Regions from separate parts of the Homo sapiens genome. Here region 2 is linked to region 1. Evidence: promoter capture Hi-C in 16 types of primary human blood cells and fetal thymus (Javierre and others, 2016). All regions are on one chromosome and are shown on one strand. Each heading gives the region's core, a stretch centred on a gene start or on the middle of the fragment in contact. The rest is flanking DNA. Distances are from core to core; before and after follow the strand shown.

Region 1 (7,142 bases), core at 3,549-6,048:
TACTCATTGTTTAATAGCAATTGCAAGATTTTTAGTTAAATACCATCCACTTCCAGTTTAGTGTAGAAAACAATTTCAACAACAAATACTGTTCCTCCATGTTAAGTAAATTTGTAGGTAATACAAAAAATTATTCTTTCAATGTCAAGAAAAAAATAAGGCTCCTCCCAACATCTGCACATTACAGAACAGGTAGTAAATACGAGCCACTTCAATTTTAAACCCAGCCTAAAAGCCAGTAACATTCACAGAGTAATATTTCAAATAGTATTCCACTCGTTAATTTGCCAGTCAACATAAAAATTAATTTTACCATAAAATAATTATATTTTCAATATTAAAAAGTCTCATAGATAATCTATCATGAAATTGGGGGAAACAAGTCTCACAGAATACAAGTATTTAACATTTATTCTAACACATAACAGGGAACAGTCCCTGATCACCCTACATATTTGAGATGTAAATGTGTTTGCTTCAATAAAAGATTCACATCCAAGAAATAATTAAGCACCTACCATCTGCTAAAAACAAATCCTTTGGAGATAAAAGCTTTTACACATTATTAAAATATTTTTAAAATAGTAAACATAAAATAGCATCTGTTGAGAAAACTGCATACTAGTATTTCCTAACCAGTTTTGATAGCTCTTCAAAGTTCTGTTAGTTTTACACATTTTAAACACACTATGGTTGTACACATTTAAGTCCCAGTAGTAGTAGCTTCCAGAAATGCAGAGCTGTTAGGGTTTACATAAAACACACCTTTAAAAATTAAACCACAGGTTTCTTTAGAAGATTGATGAATGAAAACGAGTACATTATTCTTGGAAATTAAGAAGCCAATTTAAGAAATTATAATTTCCCTAAGACCACTAAGATATGTACTGAGGGGAAATTTTTCTCCTATTAATTAGCTTTTCTCCCTACTGCCTCAATAGACTCAAGAAGTCCTAGAGCTTACTGGGGGCATATATGGCAATGATTTCTCTCTGGAAGCTGTGAGGAAGTCAGACGAGCCAAAATTGTAGGGCAGTTATCAGTCTTACAGAGTTGACGGGAAATGGAGACCTGTCAAGGCTCTACACTTAAACTGGAATCAGAGAGATCCTTTCATTTACACTGACAACGAAAGGATGTATGATCAAAATGTAGGCTCTAAAAATAAAATTAACTCTCCAATTACATTATAGTTCTCTACAAATCCACTTAAACAGATAAACAACTAATCCTTCAAACTCAGCTATCCTAGAACAAAGACCATTTGACTAGTTTCCCCCAAGGAACCAAATTCTTTCAAAACTCTCTGGGAACAAAAATTATGCCTAACCTTCTAATAAATTTGCCTAGACAATCCTAACTTAAAACACACATAGTAAATTAACAAAAAACAAACAATTATAGCCTCGTGATTTATAAAGTAACCATTCAAAATAAGGTACAATACTTAAAAAAAAAAAAAGCCAGTATCATTTTACAGGAACTAAAACATCAAAAAAAAAAACAAAAAACAAAAAAAAACCACCCACCACCACCACCAAAAAGAAACAAAACCTAAAGCAATAAAGCAAGCCAATATGAAGAAAGCTAGTAAACTGAAGACAGCTTTTCCTATAATTTCTAACTTGGTATTTTTCATTTGAAGCCAAATAAGTTCAATTGCTTTGTCTGTCTAGACCTGACCAAGGTCTCTATGAAGAAAACCATCGGGCACAGGCAGTGTTCCCTCCTATGGCCACATAAATCAAATTTTTAAGAATACACTGATTTTGTATATTGAATAGTAAGTTTAAAGTACCAAGCTTCTGAACCACAGACCTTAATCACCCAGCCTTTAAAATAAATGCACAATCTTTACACAGCAGTGAATGATCTGGACTTAAATACTTGCTCAGATCAAAATACAAATGAGTACTGACCCCAAAACCCTACACAAATTTCGCCCACTACCCACCAACATTTCACTTTATAATAAAATATTTCAAATATTCTAAGTAAGGTTGTGTGCTCAGTCTTCCATGATGAAGCTCACTGGTATGTAGAAAATCCTTGAGCCAGTTATTTCTCTAATTATTTCGTAGGCTAGAACCTTATCAACCTAGTTGATACAGTCACCATATGAAGTAAATGCTGCTCTAAAATATTTACAATGGAATAAAAGAATCATGAAACAGTGTATACTCTTCAACCTTTTAAAGTACTACTGGATTGAAAAGCACTCATCTTTCCGTTGCTCCACAATCAGAATGGTCATTAAATGTCATTAATGGCCCACTCACATCTCACTGCTTAGTTCAACCCAAAAAGAACTCCCACTACGAAAGTGAATTCTAATCTTTCACACTTTAAAAAATTCAGTTAAATGACACCTGACACCATTTAATTTTCAGTCTCAGTCTGTAAGTTTCTGAAAATAGCATAAAATGGATTCAAGACCCTATTATGGTAATGTTTTTATTTAAGGTCTATTAAAACAGACTAAATTCCACAATCCTATAATAGGTAAATGGGCATATTTGAAGAGGAAAAAAATCCAGAATCGGAGCCTTACTTTTAACTTACATAATGATGATAGTATGCTGTAAGACGATTGTTAAAGGCAGCATGAAGCTTCACTTTACCAAATACACAATAAACTTTGAAAATTCTTAAGGAAAGCTTAAATACATGGGAAAAATGGATGGCAAAATATAATGGCATCTCTACACCCAATGAAGTAACAGGTTTAAGCTTGTTTGTACAGCTCCCTAAAATTTAAGCTAAAACACAATACAAAAACCAAAATCCACAAAATGGGTCAAGAGGTGGTTGGGAAATGTCTTACTCTAGATTGAAACATTTAATCATATAAAATAGATGATACTTATACAGTTACTAAACATTTTAATCTACTTTGGCATATTGAATAAAAGATGGTTGGATTAAACCAAACAAAAACTATTATTGGTACCCAAATAATTTTTTTTTAATGTTGAAGCGCACCCATCATCACCACTGAAATTTGCAAGGCTGTTTTTTTTTTTCAAAAGTGGAGACATTTTATTTGCCTTTCAGGAAAAACGAATCAAATTAATCAGCTAAAACACAGCACTGTAATTTGCAGTAAAAAATCAACACATTTTTGTAACTGGCTCGGGGAAGGAAAAACAGCCCAGTCTTTTCATGTAAACATAATAAGCCTGTAATATGCTGCAGACAAACGCACTGCATGGGGTGTGGAGGACCCGAGCTGATTAGATTACCACAACATCAGCCTGGGGCCGCCATTTTTAGAATCTGTAAAGGACAAAAGAGGGAAATTTCAGTTTTTACTCCCCATCTCAGAAATTGAAGGAAAAAAACAGACTATTTTCCAAATAGGTATTCATGTCTCCAGCCTCGAGTTGAATGCACCTCACTTAATTCTCTCCAAGGTCTCCAGAACTCCAAACACCTTACCTTATTCACATCTCTAAAAAGGGAACAAAATAGGCAAAACGAGGTTTACTCTAGAGCTAACTCTAGCGATTCCTCTTTGACTTTAAATTGTATCGTTCTTAAGACAGAGCCCAGCAAGGACGGATCTATACGGAACTAAGGCCAGTAGAAGAGAGCACTCTGGATTGTTTTTTTCTCACCCCCACCCCGTTTAGCACAGTGAACCGTTTGTTTCTCATCTGTGTCTGCTGCCATAGAATTTGTGCCAATCCCTTGGTCAAAATAAGCTTTTCTGAAATGAGCCATATTGTAGATCCTAAGGCTCCGGCACAGTAAAGGACGGCGGTAATGCAAAAGGAGTGGGGGAGGAGACTGAGAAGGCTGGGTACTGGGGTGACCACTTCAGGGGCGGGTTTACCCTCTCCAGGAGAGGATGAGGAGCTAGCTGTCTCGCTCTCCCACAAAGAGAGATGCCCAGGGCGTTCTTCTTACCCCCTTCGTATTCATGTGCACATTATACCAGAGACTGCCCGTCAAGAAATGGAAGAAGAAAATGGGGCCTATATGGCTTTTCAGCACCTGAACAAGACGCGGTTGAGAAAAGGGAGCGCTGGCAGCTCCTGGGACCACTTCGACACAAACCCTACTAACAGTCACAAGCCTCCGTCTTCACTCAAGCGGCCTTAACCCGCTGCCAATGAGGAGTGCGCCCCCTCCCTAACTCCCCCACTCTCAAGGGGGTTTAACTGCCAGTTACCCCTTTCCCAACCCTAAAACCCGCCATAATGCTCCATTTCTAGGGTCAGGGAGAAGAAAGAATAAATTCGATTTAAGCAAGCAACGTCTTGCGCCGGCAAAGACACCTGAGAGTCAACGTCGGCTCCCCCAGCTTAAGGATAAAGATGAGAGACCTCCCTCCCCCTTGAAACACAAGTACCCCAACCCCGCAAGCCCCAGGAACTCCCATGGAGACGACAGGCACTAACCTGTGATGTTCACACACGAGACACCCGAACCCCGTTATGTGCTCGACCCCCAAGGAGTCTCTCCGCACCTCCGCGAACAGGCGACCCCCCGACAGCAGCCACTGCGGACACAGGACCCGGCTCCACACACCCCCTCCCCAAACAGCAGCGCGCAGCCTCTTCACCAGGAACCGAGGAGTAGGGGAGGGGGCAGCCAGGCAGTCAACAGGAACGCAGAGACGACGGCGAGGCTGCTCGGAGTGTCTATGCCCACTCTGTTGCCGCTCCCGAACTCCGGCACGGTCTCCGACTCGGCCCCCTGCGCCCGCTCAGTGTCACTGCCTCTCGCTCTGGGAAAATGGCGGCGGCGGCGGCGGCGGCCGCGGCGGCGGCGGCGGCGGCGGCAAGTGCACGGGGTACGCCCGTCCCGCTCCGCAGGGGCAGAGGGGGAGGGGATGAAGCTGCCCGGCGCCATTTTGCTTGTGGGCTGCCGCCCGCCGTTGCCTCTCCGCGGAGGCTCGAAGATAGCAAACTGGAGGCGGTGAGGGGGACGGAATCTCTGTCTTTCTGACAACAGATGCATTCAACAATCCACCGAAGGTTTGAGGAAGTGTCGGTATTCGGTGGGACTGGTTCTTTCCCCCTTTCCCCCAGTGGCCCTCAAGTCTGGATATAGGTGAGCTTGGGCATGCCAGTATTGGGTGCACGAACAAGGACAGCAGGGCTTGGGAACGAACTCCCTCCCGTCACCCTCCGAAAGCGATACACCTTCTCCCCCTCCCAAACAACCCCAGTCCCGTCTCCCCGTTCCTCTCCCCCTCCTCCCCCAGCCCAGTCTGGCCTCCAGCGCTGGGTGAACCCGGTTGGGGTGTCACTCGACGCCCACTAGGGGCTGAGGAGGCTCCAGTGCGCAGGCTCCGGGCACCGGATAAAAGCGGAGCTGGCGAGTCTAGTGCTGTCTCGATGGAGGAGCAAGAAACGGAAGAGGTCGGGGGGAGAAGCAGCCGGAAAAATGCAGCCACCGTCAACGCCGCCTCCCTGCCACCGTGCTTCGGGGTAAAAAGCTGCCGTTGCCGTCGGTGCAGTTGCCGTCGCTGCCTCCTATACTTCTCTTGGCCTCGGGGAAGGATTTCCCCACCGGTGGGACAATGTGCGGGGAGGGGAGTGGGAATTCCTTTATATGGCGGTGATTAAACGAGGGAGGGACAGACAGTGATCTCGAAGAAAAAAGGGGGAGACCAAAGAATAAAAGAAGGGTTTCCCCACTAAAATGACACGGCGATTCCGGCTCTTGTTTTGGGGGTCTTTCCCCGAAATGGTTTCCGTCTTCCCCTTGCCCCGCAGCGACCCAGAGCGCTGGGGGAAGCGGAGTGGGGAGAGGCAGAGGCGGTCTCGGCAGCCAATCAGCGCCTGATGTGTCCTGTCGGGCGCGTCGTGGTTGGCTGGCGATGACCTCATCCTGCAGCAGCGGGTGGGGCCAAAGCCGTAGGGGGAGGCTGTTGCAAAGGTAGAGAGGGAGAAGTGACGATGGTGATCGTTGCTGCCGCGGCCGATATGGAACCCAAGCAGTGGCGAAGGGAATCGCAAGGCTCTTCCCTGACCATTTTCTACTGTCCCTGCGCGAGGTGAGGGCCCCGGCTCGGCCTCTGCAAAACTTTGGGGCGCTGGCGCGGAGGAGGAGACAGGATTTCTCCCGTGACTTTTGTAACTGCGTCAGGGCAAGATGGCGCTGGGTCTCTTTGGGGCGCGGGGGGAGAGGCACGTCCACCGCCGCAGCGCATGTGACCGGGCTGCATTCCTGTGGGGTTTGGCTCCGACCCAGGCCGGGGCGGGGGAGGGGACAGGGCTTGGGCGGAGGAGACTGTGGTGCGGTCGGCGTTGGCGGCCTGAAGAGGAAGAGATGACTGTTGGAAAGCGTTCCCCTCCCCCATACGGCAGAACAGCTGCGGCTCCCAGGGGAAAGCCCCCGCAGGACAGTCCTCGTGGGGTGTGACGGCTGTTGGTGGAGAAGGTTTGGCGCCCTATTTTCTTATCTGCCTTTCTCCCCGCAAAGTATACTTATGTAAGGTGGTAGTTCCCTGACGTGGGACTCGGAATCAACTAGGAGTCCTTGAGGGCCTCTGGGAGGCCTAGCGAGGGGTAGACCAGCTTCTGGGGGTACAACGTCAAGGAGGATCGATTACTTTCTGAGGAAACAGTTTCTCAGATTGAAATAGAAAAGTATTTCCAAAGTTTGGAAACAAATTTAAAGGTGTAAATAACACCCAGGAACACTTTAATTGCTTTGAAAAGGCATAAGCAGCCATCTGAATTTAAGGGCCCTTTTCAGACTCTTCCTTCCTCCTGTGATTCCTGTTCTTTATTTCAGTTTTCTGTCTGTACATCCCTTAAGAATATAGTTTTGTCGGTGGGATTCGCTCTTTTGTGCCCAGGCTGGAGTGCAGAGGCGAGATCTCGGCCCACTGCAACCTCCGCCTCCCCGGGTTCAGGCGAGTCTCCTGCCTCAGCCTCCCAGGTAGCTGGGATTACAGGCGCCCACAACCACACCCTGCTAATTTTTTCTATTTTTAGTAGAGACGGGGTTTCACCCCATTGACCAGGCTGGTCTCGAACTCTCGAGATCCGCCCGTCTCAGCTTCCCAAAGTGCTGGGATTATAGGCATGAGCCACCGCGCCGGGCCTGCTTTTTTTTTTTTTTTTTTTTTTTGCACTGGGCATTAGTAATACGGAATAAAAGCCGTGTTTTAAACTGTATTAAGT
Region 2 (6,992 bases), core at 2,451-4,950, 2.2 Mb before region 1:
CTCGGCCTCCCAAAGTGCTGGGATTACAGGCATGAGCCACCGCACCTGGCCAAAAAAAGTACATTTTCTAAATAACATTTCAGAGTTTCTTAAAATGGTCATATATTACAATTCTCATAAAAATAAAAATGTTCTTAGGTTTTCTTAATGAAAATTTGGGACCTAGCCATAATAAAAGATACCTGTCATTCTGAATAGGATATTATGTATAGAAAGATGAATAATCATCATGGGAAATTTAAACAACTAGTAAATCTACCTGCAAGCCTACAAAATTATCACAAGGAAGAGAATATGGGTTAATAAATTTAAATAATTTCTCAGCAAAATCCAACAACTAAATATTATTATGAAAGGAAAATGTGGTTGTCTCTTTTATTTCACCCTTTGGACAACGATCGAATTAGTTCTTTATTTAACATAAGCAACAATGGTAAGATTTTTCTGATTTCTCAGGCTCTAGTCTAAATTCCATTTTTTAAAAAAGTTCTAGCCTGATGCAGTAGCTCATGCCTATAGTTCCAGCTACTTAGGGTAGACTGAAGGGGGACGACAACTTCAGCCTATGCGTTGGAATCCAGCCTGGGCAATGTAGCAAGACCCCCCCTCTTAAAGAAAAAGTTCTAATGAGTGAATATGAAATACACAAAAAAATCCTGACTTTTGCAACAACATATTTTTCCTCAAAATAAAGCAATAAAATATATTGCTGTTAAAAGTCACTGAAAGTCAAGCACCCAGTGCAGGCTGATCAAAACTGCACTGAAAAAATGTTAATCACTTAATATTTATAAGCTTTCTAAGTCATGATGTTAATTACCAATAAACACCGATGACACTGATAAATTTCTTTCTACGAAGACTTTTTCATGATCTTTTTGGTTTTGAAATGTATTCCTGACTAGAAAATACAATCACTGTGAAAAAAAATGGGAAAAAAAATTTTTTTGGAAAAAAAGGAATATGATTACTTCTAACCCCACCAACCAGACTTAGATATTTTTACATTTTGATGTATTACAATCCAATTTCTTCTTCATGTACACATATACTCAATCATGTTTTTCTTCATATTTCATATTATAGTTTGATACCTTTTGGCCTAATATAAGTTCATAAGCATTTTCCTATGTTATTTTTTCAAAGCTCTAAATGGTTAAATATACATCAGAAGGATGTACCGAAATTCACTTATCCCCTCTACTACTGAATATGCTATTCCCAGTTTCTTCACTCTTCTAAACACTGAATTTATATTCTTATTTTTTAAAAGTATTTGCTTACATCTGATTATTTTAGATTGCTAGATACAGCGTTCTTGACACATAGCCCAACTGCATGCATATTGCCTTACTGTATGTCTAATATTCTATTTTGGATGCTATCTGCCTATATCCCTCAAAAATAACCCTTAGCCTGGGCACTGCTTTAGAGCCTTGCTCAATACTGACTATACAATTTGCTACTATTATGGTGTAGCAAAAAGGGCACTGGGTTAGATGTAAGGAAACGGGTTTTGATTCCAACTTGATCACTTACCAAATATATGACCTAAGTGACTGAGTTTCTCTTCATCTGTAAAATAGAGCTAATGATACCTGCCCTACTCTCCTCTGATAGTAGTTGTGAAGATGAAATGAAATAGTGAAAAAAGTGTAAAATGACGTCTTTTGAAATTTTTTTATCCCCAGACATAGGGCAATATTAAACATACTTTGGGTCTGTAATGTCCTAAATAGAACAGCTACTGAAAATACATAATTAACAGGTGGAAACCAGATAGCTATTCAGTTTCAACAGTCTCCTCCCTAGGAGATATTATGACAAGTCATCCAGCACATCTCCATAAAAATCATGTATCATGCCATTACTTCAAGCCCCTAAAAGATGAAATTTGGAAGAAATTAACGCTTCTCCAGTTTAGTACAATGTACTGATCACAATCAGTCTTAGCATATAGTTACAGCAAATATGCTAGGATATAACAATTTCCCCCACAGAACTAGCGACTAGAGAAAATGTGTAACACAAATCTATTTCTCAAGTATGAAATCACGATTTTAAGCCTCCACTCTCTCCCTGAAAAAAAAAAAAAAAAAAATGGAGCAAATTTAATTTCATCAGTGATTCTCTACTCTGTGGCACACGAAATCATACATATGCTTAAAAAAATGTTGTCCAGGCCCCATCCCCAGAGGATCTGATCTGTTTGGTGTGGGGTATGGCTTTGTGCACTAGTTTTTGTTTCCAGGTGCAGAATACTGAGATACACTGGGCTAAAAATGGTTGCTAAATTCCTACTTATTAAAAAAATCATTTATTTAATAAATACTATGTACAGGGCATTGTATTAGTTGCAATGCTGGATCTCACTAATGAACAATTCATCATGAGTCTGACTTTAGTGGAAAGATATAAGCAAATGACCATAGTTCTACAGAGCAGGACTTGGCTATGAATGGGTTAAAAGAAAAGAAGGGGCTAGATCAGTGGTTCACGCCTGTAATCCCAGCACTTTGGGAAGCCGAGGAGGGCGGATCACGAGGTCAGGAGTTCCAGACCAGCCTGACCAACATGGTGAAACTCAGTCTCTACTAAAAATACAAGAATTAGCCAGGTATGGTGGCACGCGCCTGTAATCCAACCTACTCAGCAACCTGAGGCAGGAGAATCGCTTGAACCCGGGAGACAGAGGTTGCAGTGAGCCGAGATCGCACCACTGCACTACAGCTTGGGCAACAGAGCGAGACTCCATTTCCGAAAAAAAAAAATGAAAAAAGAAAAAAAGCCGGGTGCGGTGGCTCACGCCTGTAATCCCAGCACTTTGGAAGGCTGAGGCGGGCAGATCACGAGGTCTGGGGATAGAGACCATCCTGGCTAACATGGTGAAACCCTGTCTCTACTAAAAATACAAAAAATTAGCCAGGCATGGTGGCGGGCGCCTGTAGTCCCAGCTACTCGGGAGGCTGAGGCAGGAGAATGGCGTGAACCTGGGAGGCAGAGCTTGCAGTGAGCTGGGATTGCGCCACTGCATTCCAGCCTGGGCGACAGAGCAAGACTCCGTCTCAAAAAAAAAAAAAAAAAAGAAGAGAGGGAGGTCTCCCAATGAGAGAAACTCACATGAGTAAACTCATATAGCTGGCAAAGTCCTAGTGAGATCAGAATATAGAATCTAGTTTTACCACAAAGTAGGATGGCCTTGTGTGTCATGTGATCATGAACACTGAGGCTATACTACTACTACTACTACTATATGGAAAGGTAGTCTAGGATCAGAGTCTTCAATTGTAGTTTAGGAAAACTATTTATTTATTTAGAGACAAGAATAGGGGCTCTGAAATCAGGCTGCCTGAGTTTAAATACCAGATTTGCCACTTACTAGCTATGTACCCTAAATAATTTACTTAAAATCTTCATGCCTTGTTTATAAAATGGCAATAAAAGTACCTACCTCACAGGCTGCTACAAAAACTCAGTGAGATCATGTAAAATGCTCAGAATAGAGCCTAACACAAAGCAAACCTTCAATGTACAGTGGCTAGTGTTATGATTAGCAATTATCAGACAATGAAGAACCACTGATGATTTTTTTTTTTAAAAGAGGTCTGACATGATCAGAACTATACTTTAAAACAGTCTCTTTGAGTCTATGGACAAAATCATACTGAAATACTGTATGAGTATGCAGGAACACCTATAATATTTTAAGGAGGGTATTTTTTTTTTTAAAGAGAGCACTCACATTCCCAGTCTCTATGAAAGCCACCCGTCTCCAGCTTCCTTTGCAATGGTTCTCAGTGCAGATTCCTTATTTATTAACTCTTAAGAGAGAAACTAGTCATACTATGTGAGTTCTTTAAACACCTAATATTAACAGTTTAGATAGGAGATTTTAACTCTTTCCATAGAAGTATTTCTGGCATCTTAAGTATACAGAATATAATTTAACCTATTTTGATAACTAAAAATCCTTATGAATATCCGTACTATGCTTCACATACAGATGTGAGCTGCACAGTCAACCTTATCTGAACTGAAAACATTTCCCATTTTTACCTTTATTATGAAATTTAGAAGCTGCACTACACAGGTATCTCTCTTCAGAGCTATCCTCTGTGTATGAACAGTGCTGTTCTTGGGGTCCACAGAAGCACAGCTGCAGTCTGTCTTGTCTTCCCCCTCCCTCTGCAGAGCTCTTTGGTTTCCTCATTCTTTCCAGCTAGAACTTTTTTCTTCCCTACAGCAGGTCCTGCAGTTTCCAACATTCACCAAGTATAGTACACTAACGTCTCTTTGCAACTTCTATCATTTCTTCAGCACTTTGTCTTAGTTATCAACCACCATCCCAAAACTCCTTAAATGAAGTTGGAAAAAGACATTATTTTAATTTCAAAACAGAGCTACCTATAAATAACCAAAAGAACCAAATAAATATTTACTGAATATAAGTTCTATGTGTTCACACCTCTCATTGCTCAAGGCTATCAGAAGTTTGGTCCTGAGAAAACTGAAGTTCTGCTACTGTAAAGCTACCATACAGTAAGAGAAGCTACACTTCAAGACAACAGACTTCAGTTTCACTCTTACTAGCTGTGTAACCGGGGACAGGTCACTCACTCAATCTCAGACTCACGGTCGGTCCCTCTACTTACCTCACAGGGCTATTCTGAGAATTCAATATATGAAAACAAAATTCAAAACTACATACAAATGGAAATTTTCTGTCTCTTCTGTCTATTCTCAACTATTCTGAAGAAAGAAAGCAAGGTCTCCAATACAATAAAGGAATACCAGGGAAGCCCTTACATTTCTTACTCCCCTACATATATTATACCAATTACATACTCATTTTGATAAACAAGCTCCTCTTTCAAATATCTCCTGGTAGAGCTAACCCTATTGTTCATTCATGCTTTTGTATACTGCTTTGGTATCAGATTCAACACAGCTTGCCTTGTATTTTAGTTAACTCTGCACATGTCATCTCTTCACGAGATCAGTGATTCTCAGTATCTATTTTCCAGAAGTTGTACTCTGAAATGTCATGTTCAGTGTTACAAATTTTACTTTCTTAGAATGCCCCATTGCTTTTGGTATGCAAACTTCCAGAAGCAAATATCCACAAAATCTTAAGACAGGAGAGAAAGAGAGAACTAGAAAAACCTAAGTCTCAATGAATGAAGAAGGAAACAGTTTTACAAAATGCTTACCTACACAGCACTTCCATGTACTTCATCTAATTTTATTTTAAACTCAGAACAACTCTGTGAATAAAGTATTATTATGGATGAGGAAAACAGGACTATGATGACTAAATGGGATCATTTTCTTTTTGAAGGCGAGAGCTGAGAGGGAAAAAAGACAAAAGGTATAAGCCAGCATGGGTTACTTCCTGCTTTCAAGTGCCTATTATTCCCTGAATCCTTACTTTTCCATCATCATCATGGAATCCACAGCAGGATCTTCTATATGCTCTCCCCTAATCCTGAAGGATTTCCATAACCAGTCCAGACTACACGCTCAAATTGTTTTCAAAGAGTAGGTGAAGAAAAGGTAATTTGCAATTAATTTCTATCTCTGAAACTGAGGTATTTTAAATGGATTACATAATTACATGCTAAAACAAGCCTCCATAACAAAGTATATTAAATGCAACTTTCTATACCAAAAGCATCTCTGAGGCTGTAATGCTGTTCTTTTAGAGTATTTTCAACAAAACTTCAAAAGATTTCACAGGTATTTGTCTACAACTCTAGTTTGCCACCGGGCTACAAGAAAAGACAAAACAACAACAAAAACCCTTAGTGGATTCGTTTTGGTCACTTACCACTTTCATGGCCCTGAACAATTAAATCTCTAGGCCTGTTTTCTTATTTGGACCTGTTTTTTTTATTTGTAAATAAGACTAGTGGCCAGGCCCAGTCACTCAGGCCTGCAATGCCAGCACTTTGGGAGACCAAGACAGGAAGATCGCTTGAGCCAGGAGTTCAAGACCAACCAGGGCAACATAGCAAGATCCCATCTCTAAAAAATTTTTAAAAATAAGTAAAAAAAAATGGGACTAGTACCTATCTACCTATCAGAATTGTTGTAGGTATAAAAGATATTACATCCCACAGACACTGCCCAATCCACATCTATACAAGTTCTTAGTAATTTCATGCTCATTCAACATGAAATACTATATTGATCAAGACAATAGAAAACCCATTAATAGCAGAAGCAGTCATCCACAAACTGTTTTAGGAGTACTGTCAATTCAAATAAGTATTTAAGATGAGTCATATAAGATAAGTCACATATTAAAACGACATCATCTAAAAATTCTTATGAAACTTGTTTTCCTAAACTTTGGTGCTTCATAATTTCTATTATCATTTTCTATGGAGAAACTAGAAACATAATTTTCTCCATAATGTGGTTCACTGAGTTTACAAAACTAAGATGAAACTAGAAAGTGAAATCAAAACTTCATTCTATAATTTATCAGTCGAGTAAGCACAAACAATATTTTGCTTTAAAGTGGTTAAATGGCTCCTCAAAAGTATAAGATAAACTCCTAAACATTTTTACATTATCTATAAAAACTTGTGGGAAAAGCTTTTTTTTAAAGCTATGATCAATAACTTTTAAAAACTCAACCACAATTATGGAGAAAATTATGTTTCTAGTTTCTCTATAGAAAATGATAGTAGAAATTATGAAGCACCAAAGTAAATGCTGATAAGTATATGAAAAATGTGAATGTTACTGATATCAGGCAATTAATAAGAATATTAGAGTATGCCATTTTTCCCTGAATTTTGTGATATGCAGGTATCTGGCAGCTTTAATTTTTTTTTAATTCATTGTGATTTATTTTTCCATTCTAAGTAAATACTCACTTTCATACTTAACAGACATAAAATTCCTGGCATTGACTCTTTTTTTTTTTTTTTTTTGGAGAGGAAGTCTCGTTCTGATGCCCAGGCTGGAGTACAGTGGCCTGATCT

What was found. The method cuts DNA at HindIII sites, captures the fragments that hold promoters and counts their contacts. A CHiCAGO score of 5 or more calls a contact.
Region 2: a contact is called between a fragment that was not itself captured here and the fragment with the promoter of KMT2E-AS1 in region 1, in 1 of 17 cell types (neutrophils). The highest score is 6.4, in neutrophils.

What each region holds. Positions count from the first base shown.
Region 1 is chr7:105,011,797-105,018,938 of GRCh38, reverse strand. It overlaps KMT2E-AS1 (KMT2E antisense RNA 1), which reads left to right and starts at 4,798. Exons shown (of 1, transcript NR_024586.1): 1 at 4,798-7,142. It overlaps KMT2E (lysine methyltransferase 2E (inactive)), which reads right to left and starts at 4,734. Exons shown (of 27, transcript NM_182931.3): 1 at 4,404-4,734. RefSeq lists enhancers at 4,415-4,644, 4,905-5,024, 5,345-5,394, 5,186-5,725, 5,815-6,184 and 1 more and silencers at 4,705-4,794, 5,145-5,194. The HindIII fragment of the contact is 4,615 bases long and covers 3,707-7,142 here.
Region 2 is chr7:107,171,810-107,178,801 of GRCh38, reverse strand. The region is part of intron 1 of HBP1 (HMG-box transcription factor 1); the gene reads right to left. Among named protein-coding and RNA genes, the nearest start is that of HBP1, 6.3 kb to the right of the region's middle. The HindIII fragment of the contact is 5,805 bases long and covers 798-6,602 here.